2 separate regions of the Homo sapiens genome follow, and region 1 is linked to region 2. The links are contacts of gene promoters, found by promoter capture Hi-C in blood cells and fetal thymus (Javierre and others, 2016). All regions are on one chromosome and are shown on one strand. The core of a region is centred on a gene start or on the middle of the fragment in contact, and the rest is flanking DNA. Distances in the headings are between cores, read along the strand shown.

What was found. Contacts are between HindIII fragments. The CHiCAGO score rates a contact against its expected background, and 5 or more counts as called.
Region 1: a contact is called between a fragment that was not itself captured here and the fragment with the promoter of ARMC2 in region 2, in 16 of 17 cell types (megakaryocytes, M1 macrophages, monocytes and 13 more). The highest score is 14.0, in megakaryocytes.

The regions. Positions count from the first base shown.
Region 1 is chr6:108,562,458-108,565,577 of GRCh38, reverse strand. All of the region lies in intron 1 of FOXO3 (forkhead box O3), which reads right to left. Among named protein-coding and RNA genes, the nearest start is that of FOXO3, 3.1 kb to the right of the region's middle. RefSeq lists an enhancer at 2,578-2,872. The HindIII fragment of the contact is 3,367 bases long and covers 173-3,120 here.
Region 2 is chr6:108,847,170-108,850,051 of GRCh38, reverse strand. It overlaps ARMC2 (armadillo repeat containing 2), which reads right to left and starts at 1,630. Exons shown (of 18, transcript NM_032131.6): 1 at 1,506-1,630. RefSeq lists a silencer at 1,273-1,372. The HindIII fragment of the contact is 2,745 bases long and covers 1-1,855 here.

The sequences.
Region 1 (3,120 bases), core at 607-3,106, 280 kb after region 2:
TCTGCCTAATTTGATTACACCCTGACCCATGGGAAAAGCAGATGTGTGCTGTGTATAACGAAATAAGTGATAGATAGGCCTTACCAGGTAAGCCCTGGCGTCCTTAGAGGTCTCCCCAAGACAAGAGGAACTGAGAGAACTCACTTGTTCAATCATGGGTGCAGTGCAAGCTTAATCTGAATTAAAGGAAATGTAACCTTTTCCCCTCTTAACCACATCTGATTGTTCATTTCTACTTTAATGCCCGAGGTAAGGGAACCTGTGAGATAGTCATCATCCTTCTCCCTGACACAGTATCTGACAAATGTAAGTAACCAAGGGCTTCCTCTTTTTGTTAAAATGCTATCCTTCTTACCTCTTTTATCACTTCATAGTTCCTAAGTACCCCTACTGACAGGCACTGGACAGCTATGCAAACATGATACACTCACTCAGCCTCCATCTACATTTGCCCATCCTTTTGATGCTGAAATAATAAGCAAGATGTTTTTAGATTGAGAGGCAAATAAGCCTTTCAGGAAAGCAAGCGCTACTTATGTGAGACTATCCATTACCTAGCAAATGACCTTTTAAAAAAGATCAATTTAAAGAAGAAAATGGAAAACAAAAACCTCTAGAACTGTGGCTACTAATTACCTCTCTACTAACTAGCTGTGTGATCTTAAGAAAGTCATTAGCTTTTCCAAAAATCAGGTTTTTCACCAGTAAAATAAGAGGGTTGAACTAGATCAGAAAACTTCATCCTAACTATACATTAGAATCACCTAAGAAACTTGAAAAAAAAAAACAAAACACAAAACCATCAATGCTAAGCCACACACAAGCCAAATTATATCAAATTCTCTGGGTATTTGTATTTTTCAGAAGTTCCCAGGTAATTCAAACATGCAACCAGGGCTGAGAACCACTGATTTAGATTCTGATCTCTAAGTCCTCTTTTCTAATTCTTTCATTTTATGATGTTAGGGTGATAATTTTGGTTACAAGGTCTCATAATGCAATGGCCCAAATAGCCTGAAAAGAAGTAAGGCCCTGCATACCGTGCCCTTTATGCACACATGACTAGGAGACGTTAACCTGAATTCTAGACATTTTTGGAAGTTAAAAATCCTCTTACATTACTCAGAATGAAAGTAGTGTGGTTTAAATGCACATGCGTGCTTCCAAAATGACTAATCATGACAAGAATCAACTCCTAAACTTGGACACTTGGAAATGGGTCACAATTAGCTCCTGATCTCTCCCTTTTCCCTCTTCTTCCACTAAACCACAAGCACACACAAAAAAAGGTTGCCTATTAGTCATAATCAAAATATAAAACCAGCTCCAGTTTCAAAGGGCCTTCTCCATCATCAAAGATTTGAAAGTTCCTGCATGGCTGCATCTTTTGATGAAGATCATCTTATAAAAACTCTAACAAAATTATATCCCTTTAGTCGTCAAGGATTAGTTGTCATGTGACACTCAGAAATGGAATTGGTAAAAAATTTTAAGGTAAAAGAATCATAAAATGTGTGCCCTGTATTAAGCATATTAAGCCTTGAGAATTTCAATTTACAGTATTTTCTAAGATTTTAGTTGAAGAGAAATGAGATAGCAGAGAAGGGTAAAAAAAAAAAACCATAAGACAAAAAAACGATGACATAAAACCATAAAGTTTATGACTAGTCCCAAAATCTGTATTGCAAGTCCTACAAACTATATGAAAATGTATCTAGCCCAATCTCAATTCGCGGCTACTTTTGGTAATACCATTATCTCATGTAAATCTTCCCCCCAAAAATAAAGTTCATTAAACTTATTATATTTAACTATAAACAAAATAACAAGAAATATTTGTGAAATTAAATTATTTTTGTAACCTTAAAAATCACAGGAAAGGTGAAAACGCCTTCCTACGTTAACGTTTTAACTAAGTTTAAAGTTAACTAACTTTTCACTAACGTATTCTCCTCACCAAATTCAAACATGCAAGACTAAATTTCAAGTGAGAGAAATCTGAAAAACATTTCGAACCCCCAAATCCATGTTCTCAGATCCTGTCCGCTTACGCCTTCCTGATACTATACACTGATTAACCCTTCCCATCCACTTGGAAACCCAGTTTTAAAACATATCACACTAGTGCTCTTTTCAAATGGAATTGTCTAACTTTCATCCTTTCTGTAAAGAACTCTCGTATCATACACCTGGCATTCTTTTACAAAGCAATTGAATTAAACCAAATATAAGACTCATAATGTAAGCATTTGTTAAAAGAAATGAGACACATTAGTGGATTAATATCAAAGCACACGTGTTTTGCTTTTAAAGTATCTAATACAAAGCCTCTCTGATATAAGCCGTATTTAACTTTGCAAGGGTTTTCTAGAAGCAAAATAAAACATTCTCTACATTAAGTTCTTTAACTTTTTCATCTACAGGCTCGTCTCCAGTGCTTCCATTGAATTCTCCACTAAGATTAAACTGTTCTTATTTTTATACCTCCTGAAACCCAGGAAGACAGAGGGCTCCCCAATGACAATGAAGAAAGGGAAGGAGGAAGCAACTACTTCTTTTACATAAAACAAAACAAAAAAAAATCTAAGCTAAATTGCAAATATGGGCAGCTGATAAGAGATGTATATCTCCAATCGCACAGGACTCTTTGGCCTGGTACTGACACACACTGTCTTGGGGGAAGGGGCCAGGGAGGTGCCTAGGAAGAGGAAAGCAGCTGGATATCAGCAGCCCAGCAGGGGCAGAGGAGTTAATCTCTTTGGATACCCAACTGCAGGAAGTCATTACATCATAGGCCTTTCCACACCTCTCTCCCTACCACGTGTCCCGTGCCCCAAGAGGATGATAAGGAACGGTAGAGAGTCTCTCTTCGGGTTCATTTACAGGTAGAAGCCATTACGGCCCGGCCCAGCCCCCAAACCTCCTCCCAAACGCCAGAGTGAATGAAGCGCAGGCCCCGCGTCCCCCACACCAGAGCCCTTCCCTCAAACAGTGCCTGAATCCAGGCCTCGGCGGGAGCAGCGGGTGCAGCCAGTCTGGATTGAGGTGGCCAGACCGGCCGGTTCGAGGCCCCAGAACATTTCAGAAGCAGCTAGTCAGAAGCAGGTTTACTGGAGCGAC
Region 2 (2,882 bases), core at 381-2,880:
CTAAATGCAACACTGCACTACCAGGATGTCTGCAACAGGGGAAAAGCAGGCCAGCTTCACAGTCTTCCCTGCAAATCAAATACTCAGGACCCTTCCATAACTCTGAATCATTTTTGTATTAATATGAGCATCCAAAGAGGCAGTGGTTAAGTGCTTAGATGCTGGACTAAGGGTTTAAATGCTGACAATTCACAGCCATGTGACCTTAGGCAATGCCTCTAATATCTCTAAGCATCAGTTTCCTCATCTATAAAAGGTGGATAGTAATAATAATTGCCCCATAGGATTGTTTGAAGAATTAAATGATATAATACATGTAAAGTGCGTTAGCACAGTGCTTTAAAAATGTTAACATTTTAAAATATGGCCCTTAAAGATGTTAACAATTATTGCCCAAGTGCTACATGATAAAAGGATACAGCAAAATCATTTCCACGAATGAAAAACTACATTTAAAAAAAGAAATTGCAAAAGAGAGAATGACGTTTGTTCAGTGTTTCTATACATAAGTTTTTTTTTATTATTATACTTTAAGTTCTAGGGTACATGTGCACAATGTACAGGTTTGATACATAGGTATACATGTGCCATGTTGGTTTGCTGCACCCATCAACTCGTCATTTACATTACGTACTTCTCCTTTTAAAAGGTGGGTGGTGGTACTTGCCTTTATGAAAACAGATAATTTTTATTAAGCATTTTATTGAATATCAGCTATGCCAAATCAACATCAACAACCAGAATCCCATAGATTAAGAAACCAGGATAAATATAATAAATGGTGCTTGCTTTTCAACCAAATTAAAGTATAATTATTATAAATCAGGGTGGGACGTAAGATCTGTTGTGTTACTTGTGGGAATGGATCACAAAAGGCATTATGTATACACTCCATGATTTTAAAGTATGTTAAATATTGTTACACATACGTTTTTATTTATTGAGGCCCTGTTGCCTGGAAGTGCCCAGATATAAACTGTATGACTCTGGCCCGGTCACCGCCTGCCTAGACAAAGCCCCTTAGTCTACCACTCTCATTCAACAAATATTACTGGGCTTCTTATTAAGCACCACGCACTTGGCTAAGTGCGACAGTACATAAATAAAAGACAACCGCTCCGGACCCCTGACAGCATGCACAGGGCACTCATCGTCTCTCTACCCCATCCGAGGACACACAGGCGGACGACGGCAGGAAGGGTCCCTGGGGAGCCGCTGGGGACACCTCACCTCCCGCTCGGACAGCGGCTCCCCCACCCACGGCAGTGCCCGCTCCTCCACGGTCCCGGCCAGGGCAGGGCGCAGCAGCATCCTCACCCCGCCCGGCCACCCTCCCACTTCGCCCCGCAGCCAGCGTCTCCATGGTAACCGTACACAAACTACCTCCCGCCGCCGCCCCGGCAGCCAGACCGCAGGGCCAGGCCGCTGCAGGGCGGGAGAGGCGGGCCGGGGAATGAGCTTGGCGAGGGCTCAGGGAAGGAGGCTTCCGACCTGACCCAAAGCACCTGTGATGAGCACTGGAGATAGCAGCGGCTGCGAGGTTCAATTCATCCTCCGGCTCTCCCCGGGTAGCGGCCAGGGATGCAGCGCTGGCGCGGGCGGGGTAACCCCACGACGCCGCTCGGCCACTGGGCCTGCGCGGGTCCCGCCAACGCATGCGTAGAAGCTCCGAGGCGTGGCGACGGCCGGAGCGGGTGGGAGGAGCCTGGAGAGGGCTGTAGGCCGGGAGGTCAGATCAGAGCAGGCGTCGTGGGCGGGTGTCCGCTTTTCGTTTAGCAATTTGCCGAACCACATTTGTTGCTCCCCTGCCGGATCCCAGCACCTCTGTTAAATAACAGCAGGCAGGACGGAAGCTTAATGCTTGTGGGTAAGAAGGATTTACTGGCTCAGGTTAGGGCTCTGTATAACCTGGAGCCACTTGCTGAGCTTCTGTTTCCTCCGATGTCAAGTGGCAGGAAATATTAATAATAGTACCTAGGTAGGTCTTGGGCTGTTATGAAGACTGCATGAGAAAATAGATGTAAAGCGCTATGCACGTGGCAATCAACGAATATTAAACTGTTGGCTGTTATTAAGCCCTTGCATTTGTACAGCCCTTCAGTTCGCAGAGTGTATGCACGTAATCGTACCTTCTGAGTCTGAGGTAGGCAGCCTGGCGTCCCCATCCACAGGAGAGGAACTGGGGGCCTGAGGTGTAGTGAGCAGGAGAAGGAGATTCCAGTCTAGGTCTCCCGTGGCCAATCGTTTTTTGTTCGTGCATCATCACAGTTGAACGGCAAAAAGCACTCCATTTATGTGTTTCTAGTTTAAATTCCCTTTTCTCCTGTTAGACCATTTAGCAACACTGTACAGTGTTAAATAAAAGTGAGATCATAAGCACTCTCCATTCAGGTTTGCACCACGTTTTATAAATATGGAGATTTTCCAGCTGAAGTGCTATTTGTCATCAACACTGGGAAAATGCCACTTCCCTTGGTGCTAAGCATCTTGTAAAGAATAATTAAATTGAAAATATTTTTGAGCACATACTATGTGTAAGGCATCGTGCCAGGTGGGAAATTATACTAACCTGAACTAAAGGAATGTAAATATTCTTCAAAATACTCAAGAGGATTTCAAACATAACAGAAAATAAATACCTATTCGTTGATTGGATAATTTTAGGACCCGAAACAGCCCTGGATTTTTCTGCTCATTCTTAGATAACTGACAGTCTTGTTGTAACTAAATCTCAACCACAGCTTCATTTCAAAACTATAATGTTGGGTGCAAGATATAAACAAATGCATCAAACTTCAAAAAGTCTTCCTCCCCCATTCCAGCCCCAGGCTTAAGGTCTCTAGCTGGCCTTCCCTGAAGGGGTGCACTAGGCTTAGGCTTGT